2 separate regions of the Homo sapiens genome follow, and region 2 is linked to region 1. Evidence: promoter capture Hi-C in human tissues and cell types (Jung and others, 2019). All regions are on one chromosome and are shown on one strand. The core of a region is centred on a gene start or on the middle of the fragment in contact, and the rest is flanking DNA. Distances in the headings are between cores, read along the strand shown. Region 1 holds the start of TMC7 (transmembrane channel like 7). Region 2 has its middle 13 kb from the start of ITPRIPL2.

Evidence for each region. Contacts are between HindIII fragments. The study calls those that stand out against the background at their distance.
Region 2: a fragment that was not itself captured here is called in contact with the fragment with the promoter of TMC7 in region 1 in 2 of the 25 tissues and cell types used here (heart left ventricle and small bowel).

The regions. Positions count from the first base shown.
Region 1 is chr16:18,982,320-18,985,851 of GRCh38, reverse strand. TMC7 (transmembrane channel like 7) reads right to left here and starts at 1,918. Exons shown (of 16, transcript NM_024847.4): 1 at 1,722-1,918. The coding sequence starts at 1,788. RefSeq lists a silencer at 1,948-2,007. The HindIII fragment of the contact is 36,131 bases long and covers 1-3,532 here.
Region 2 is chr16:19,098,979-19,102,947 of GRCh38, reverse strand. No RefSeq gene overlaps it. Among named protein-coding and RNA genes, the nearest start is that of ITPRIPL2, 13 kb to the left of the region's middle. The HindIII fragment of the contact is 4,773 bases long and covers 1-3,835 here.

The sequences.
Region 1 (3,532 bases), core at 669-3,168:
GCCTCCCCCATCCCCCGCCCCACCCCACGGACTGTCCTATAATGCCCATACAACAGGTCACTGTTTAGAAAGTGCTACAAAGTTACAAACACAGTCCCTTCTGAGCCTCCCACCAATGTTGGTGGGTACAAGATCAAAAAAAAAAAAAAAAAACTCATCTATCTAAGGGGCATAGAAGACTTTTTAGTTAGAGGGCCCAATTATAGTCCTCCTGAAAAGATGCCAAAAGTCCCCTCATACACTTAGCAAAGATGCAAGAAAGATGAATCTCACATTCTTTGTATGGGAAATGAGGAACTTGACATCTTCAATATAATGGATTCCACTAAAATAAGATGACTATTAATAGGAACCAACTAAAAAAATACTTGACTAGCTGTTATTGAAAGGCTGAAATTCAGCTGACATAAGCAGTATTAATATTGAGCTAGAAAATAATTCGCATTGAATCCACCCCAACTTTTGTTTTCTGATTTGGGTCTCTTCTAAATTTTTTTTTTCTTCTGGACATTGGGAACAATCCAATTTGAAGGCCTCAATGACCAAATCTACACTCATGTTTTATTCTATATCCTTGGTTTCTTTTTTTTTTTTTGAAACAGTCTTGGTCTGTCGCCCAGGCTGGAGTGCAGTGGCGCAATCTCGGCTCACTGCAACCTCCGCCTCCCGGGTTCAAGCTATTCTCTGCCTCAGCCTCCCAAGTAGCTGGGATTACAAGCACCCACCACCACTCCTGGCTAATTTTTGTATCTTCAGTAGAGATGGGGTTTCACCATCTTGGCCAGGCTGGTCTTGAACTCCTGACCTCGTGATCCACCCGCCTCAGCCTCCCAAAGTGCTGGGATTACAGGCGTGAGCCACCACGCCCGGCCCTACATCCTTGGTTTCAGTAAATCTCTATTCTAAAACTGAAAAAGAGAAAACATTGCAGATAAAACTTTACAGCAGGGTCTTGTGTTTTGTTCAGGACAAGATTCGTAAGCTCCAAATGCTACAAGGAACCCTGCCTGAGTGCTGGCAACTTTTTTATCCTGACTGGGCAGCCGTTGTACATATTTCTGTAGAAATTCATGGAGCTGTATACTTTACTGTAATTCTACCCGATACAAAAGATTATAATACTTGGCTGGCTACCATTTATTGTGACTGTCTAGCCACAATGCCAGGCACTGTGCTAGACACATCACACGATTCTCAGCTAATCCCCGCCCCATTCTATTCCCATTTTACTGCTGAAGGATCTGAGGCTCAGAGAAGGCAAGCCACTTACCAAAGGTCCCACAGCAATAAACAGACAAGGCAGAATTCGGTTTCAAGTTGGTCTAACTGTATGTGAAGGCTGAAATGTCCGGGAGGCAGGCACCTCATACCAGAATGTTAGGCGTGGAGGGGGTGCTCAAATCCTTTCATTTAACAGCAGATGAGGCTATTGAAAGACTGTCTCGGTCAACAGCTGGAAGACAAACCCACCACGGTCCAGACTGCAGTTCTCGTGTCCTTTTGGCCCGGCTGGGTTCCACTGGATTGGATGAGGACGCGTTTGTGGAGGGAGCAGGAATAAGGAAGATCTCCTTCCCACCTGCTGTTCCCCAGAGCCGGGAGCACCCGGCGTCGGGGGTGGGAGGGAACAGCGGCCAGGCCGAGCCTCCAGCACCCGGCTCCCTCCGTGCGCCCTCGGACCCCAGGGGCACCGTCCCCGCGCGCGCTCCCTGCCGCCCTACCTGGATGGACCGCCGGCTGCCGGCTGGGCCTGCCGGGCTGGAGCGCACTGCCGCTGGACTCGCTCATGGCCGCGCCCCGCGCTCCTCAGAGGCTGCCGAGGACCCTCTCCAGCCGCCGCCGCCGCCGCCGCCTCCCCGGCCTTCCCTCGCGGAGCCGGGATTCCAGGTTCCGGCGCTGACATCACAGAAGCCGGAGTGGGGCGCCCCCGCGAGGAGCCGAGCATCAGGGACCGCAGAGGGGCTGCAGAGCCCGGGAGATCCGGCAAGGCTCCATCCAGCGGTGGCGACAAGCAGCGACCTCCCTGATGTCTCACTGAGCTTAAAAAATAACAATAGATTGGGCGCACTGGGAGCCCAGTCTCCACCAGGACCCGGTACACCCATGTAACAAACATGCACATGGACCCCCTGCATCTAAAATCAAACCTGATCTAATAAAGAAATAAATAACAAAAATAACTGGTTGGGAGTGGTGGCTCACGTCTGTAATCCTCGCATTTTGGGAGTCCGAGGCTGGAGGACCGCACGAACTCACAAGTTTGAGACCAACCTGGCCAACACAGTGAGACCCCCATCTTTAAAATTAAAAAATAAAAAGTCCACACGCAAAAAACCCCAAGACTCCAAATCAGTGCATCTAGTAAGTTACCATTTGGGAACAAAAAGGAAACCAAAAAATATATTTGTACATGCTTGTAAATGCCTAAGCTATCTCCCTAGAGGGTGCAAAAAACTGGCTACCTGTGGTAGCTCTGGGTGGGGAGCTAGAGGGCCGAGTGAAGAGAAAACCACGTGCAGTGTTTGTCTTTTACGTTTTGCACTATATCCTCGTTTCATCTCTACCTCTGTTCGTGTGCAGGTTAAAAACATAAAATTGCCAGGCGCAGTGGCTCACACCTGTAATCTCACCACTTTGAGAGGCCGAGGCGGGAGGATCACCTGAGGTCAGGAGTTCGAGACTATCCTGGCCAACACGGTGAAACCCTGTCTCTACTAAAAATACAAAATTAGCCTGGCATGGTAGTGCATGCCTGTAGTCCCAGCTACCAGGGAGGCTGAGGCAGGAGAATCGCTGGAACCCAGGAGGCAGAGGTTGCAGTGAGCCGAGATCACGCCACTGCACTCCAGCCTGGGCGACAGAAGGAGACTCCATCTCAGAAAAAAAAAGAAAAAGAAAAGTAATTGCTAAATATAAATAAATGGGGAAAATGGAGAGAAATCTCCTGTGCAGATTTTGAAATCATTTACGTAGATACTTTAAGGATGGGGAGCTTAGCTCCCTACTCCTTAAGTGTGAGTTGCCCATAGCGACATCCTTCCAAAAGAGTGCAGTATGGAAGTGGTGGTGGAAGAGGGTGAGGGTGGGTTTTATATTAGATAATACCTGACAAACACTGTCTCAGACAGATGATCAAAGTTAACATCATCCGGGATCAGTGGCTCACACCTGTAATCCCAGCACTTTGGGAGGCCGAGGCAGGTGGATCACTTGAGGTCAGGAGTTCGAGACCAGCCTGGCCAACATGGCGAAACCCTGTCTCTACCAAAAATACAAAAAAATTAGCTGGGCATGGTGGCGGGCGCCTGTAATCCCAGCTACTAGGGAGGCTGAGGCAGGAGAATCTCTTGAACCCAGGAGGCGGAGGTTGCAGTGAGTCGAGATTGCACTACTGCACTCCAGCCTGGGCAACAGAGTAAGACTCCATCTCAAAAAAAAAAAGTAAATAAGTAAATAAGTTAACATCAACATTAAGCCATGAGGATGGTGTGCACCCTTCCTACGATGGGATGAGAAGGGCACTTTACCTCTG
Region 2 (3,969 bases), core at 200-2,699, 120 kb before region 1:
TTGCACTCCAGCCTGGTCAATGAGAGTTAAACTCTGTCTGAAAAAAAAAAAATGAAAAGAAAAGAAAGAAAGAAAAATGCTCTTCCCTGGTCTCTATTTTAGAGGCCACTGTCTCTATAAGAGTCATGAATAATGAAACCAACATCAGTCAAAGGAAAGCTTTGGTGTGGCAGAGATGAAGGGCCATGAGAGAGCTAATGAGTCTGTAATGCAATTTGGTGCCAATAAACTGGTACGATATTAACTCCAAGGCCATGAGATTTACACTATAAAGCCAACACAATTAAAGACTGAGAACCCGATCCCCCACCTGGTCCAGTTCTTCTAGTTCGAGTCATTTTATGGACGCCGACTTCCCGCTGACATTGTCTGGTGATGTCATGGTGAGAATTTTGACAGTCATTAAATTTCTGCCTGGAGGGCCAACGGGACCAAAGAAACTCAGATGTGAGTAGGACATAAAGCTACCGAGGGCAGAAAGCCGTTGTCTACAAAGTTAACATGTCAAACACAAGACCCCCTCTTCCTGGTCTCCTGCTAGCATTGTGGTGATGAGAGCCAGCTGTCTTGAACATTTACTAGGGGACAGGCAGTGTTCTAATTAGGCACTTGATTTAACTCATTCAGCCCTCCCGGCAAAGAACAACGTTATGGGCCAGGTGCGGTGGCTCACACGTAATCCCAGCACTTTGGGAGGCCTAGGCGGGCAGATCACGAGGCCGGGAGTTCAAGACCAGCCTGACTAACATGGTGAAACCCCATCTCTACTAAATATACAAAAATTAGCCAGGCATTGTGGCGTGCGCCTGTAATCCCAGCTATTCAGGAGACTGAGGCAGGAGAATCACTTGAACTGGGAGGTGCAGGTTGCAGTGAGCTGACATCACACCACTGCACTCCACCCTGGGCAACAGAGCGAGACTCTATCTCAAAAAAAAAAAAAAAAAAAAAAGAACAACTTTATGGACATGCACCACCACTCCCCACTAATTTTTTAATTTTTTAAAGAGAAGAGGCCTCACGCTGTTGCTCAGACTGGTCTCAAACTCCTGAACTCAAGTGATCCTCCTACCTTGCCTCTCAAAGTGCTGGGATTATAGGCATGAGCCACCTTGCTGGCCGTAGGTTCTATCTTTATCCCCATTTTGCAGACAGGGAAACTAAGGCATAGCCAGGATACATACATTGTATGAGATCAGGCAGCCAGATTCAAACCTATGCTTCCTACATTATACCTTTAATCACCCTAAACACTGCTTCAAGAAAGTTTTTCCAAATAAATGTCTGATGCTTTTTTTCCATGGTTTGAGGCAAGAGGAACAAAATAAGACATATGATGGGATTTTTTTTTTTGTAAAGCTCAATTTACAGTGGAGTCTCATCTTACAGGTCAGGGACATTTCTAAGTCAGCACATAGAAAATAAAATGTGTATTTACTTCAAATTACCTTTGTTCTATCAGTGTAGGAGTTTGAATTACAATTTGTCAAAACTTATTGAATGGTCCACTTTAGACTTGTGTGTTTCACGGTATCTAGATTTGATCTCAAAAAATCATAAACACGTATTGGATTCTAGCGAGTGATGTGCATGCTGAAGGGGTTACGGGTGAAGTATACTGACCTCAACAATTGCTTTTAACATGCATCAAAAAATAAGATGAATTGATGAGTGGAGAGGGGGTGGATAAAGGAATCGACATGAGATAAGGCCAGTTGAGTTCAACGTTAATGGTAGAATCTAGGTTGTGGGTATATGGGTGTTCACTACACAGTTCCTTCCATTTCTCTCTGTTTGGGGAAAAATGTAAATATAATGTTAAGGGAGAATGATCAGTTGAGCATTTGATGAAGAAGTTGGTTTGAGTTTAGGAGCCAAGTTGTGTGAATAATATATACCTTTAAACACTCAGCAAAGTGTGATGCTCACAATGTAAGATAATGTCAGACCAGCAATGGAGACTGGGAAATGTAGTCTATCCTGGATTCCATGTGTCCTGCTAAATGTAAGTGTTTCATTAGCATAAAAAAGAAAAAAAAGCAAATATTGAGGGACATGATCCCTTTACATCAGTAAAAAGATGAGGGAGATTGCCAACACTATTCAAAGCGTTTGCGGCTGGGTGTGGTGGCTCAAGCCTGTAATCCCATCACTTTGGGAGGCCAAGGCAGGAAGATCACTTGAGCTCAGGAGTTTGAGACCAACCTAAGCAACATGGCAGAACCTGTCTCTACAAAAAAATACAAAAATTAGCTGGGTGCAGTGGTGTGTGCCTGGAATCCCAGCTACTCAGGAGGCTGAGGTGGGAGGATCCCTTGAGCCCAGGAGGTTGAGGCTGCAGTGAGCTGTGATTGCACCACTGCACTCAAGCCTGGATGACAGAGTGAGAATCTATCTATCTATACATACATACATACATACACACATACATAAAATAAAGCATTCTCTTCCCACCCCAGAGCATTTTTGTTTGGGTAGCTGAATCCCAATAATTTAAATCTGTATGGGATGTGGTTTCAGTATAGTTATTTCAAAAATCTGTTCTTTTTGGATAATTTGCTCCAGAAGAAGACAGCTGTCCTGTTGTGAGGGCACTCAAGGACCCCTGTGAGGAGGCCCACATGCTGAAAAACTGAAGCTGCCTGCCAACAATCAGCACTAACGTGCTCGGTGTGTGCTGAGCCATACTGGAATCACTTCTGCCAGCCTCAGTCAAGCCTTCAGATAATGCAGCCTCAGCTGAGATCTTGACTGCAACTTCATGAGAGATCTTGAGCTAGAGCCACTCAGTGAAGCTGCTTCTAGGCTTCTGACCCACAAAAACTGCGTGAGATAATAAATGTTTATTGTTTTAAGCCACTAAAAAAAATAAGAATATATACTTCCACTCTGTTGGACATGAAAATAACCATTTTCTTCTAGGGGAAAACTGATACTAATGACAGTCAAAGCAGCTTCTCTTCTCTCCTTAAGTCCTAACTTAGTAAAATGAAAAGTTGGCAATTCTAGGTTAATCCCTCAAATACTTTACCTTCTGCCACTCAAAAATGTGGACAGGGCTTTTGTCTGCTTTGTTCCTTGTTACCTATCCAGTGCCTGGCATAGATAGTCACTCAATATATAAATAATTGTTGAATTAATTTTAATGCTTCATGAAATCTAAAACATTGAGGGAAAGAAAAACCTGCATCAACACACCAGAAGTCACTAAGTCATTACTAAATACATGGATGGTTAGACAGATGTCCCTAAACTATAGCCCAGCCACACACAACCTGTGACTATGTGTCCATAGACATAGTTGTCACGACCTCCCAACCAGCAGGAACAGAACCATGTCCCGTCCAGGATTCCCTTTATTGCAAGTAATCCTCCATCAGTTTCATCCTAAGGAGAAAAAGAATGACTCTTTTATATTCCCAAAGCCAAGAGGATCCTGTGTGTTTTGATGCCTAAAGAAAGGATCACTTGACGTTTGCATATTTCTGGTGGAGAAGGAAGAAAAGACTCTGCAGCAGTGGATGGAAACACAGCAGAGAAGCCCTGAACCATCATATTTCCTGCTCTCTAGATAGGCACAGTGGCAAATTCTGTCACCTACTTACTGAGACCTGATTTCTTGGCACATGGGTGCATCCACAGTTCATGATTCAACTCATGCTTAACAGTTGTCCACATTCTCAAGCCCTTGCTATGTGTCAAGTGCTGTGCTTTGCATATGCATTATTACTAAAACTCATAGCCAGTTTTTTTTGTTGTTGTTGTTTTGTTTTTTTTTGTTGTTGTTGTTTTGTTTTTTTTGTTTTGAGACAGAGTCTTGCTCTGTCACCCAGGCTGGAGTGCAGTGGCACAAACACAGCTAACTGCAGCTTCGACCTCCTGGGCTCAAGTGATACTTCCACCTCAGGTTCCCAACTAGTTGGGACTGCAGGTGCATGCCATCATGTCCAGCTAATTTTTTAACGTTCT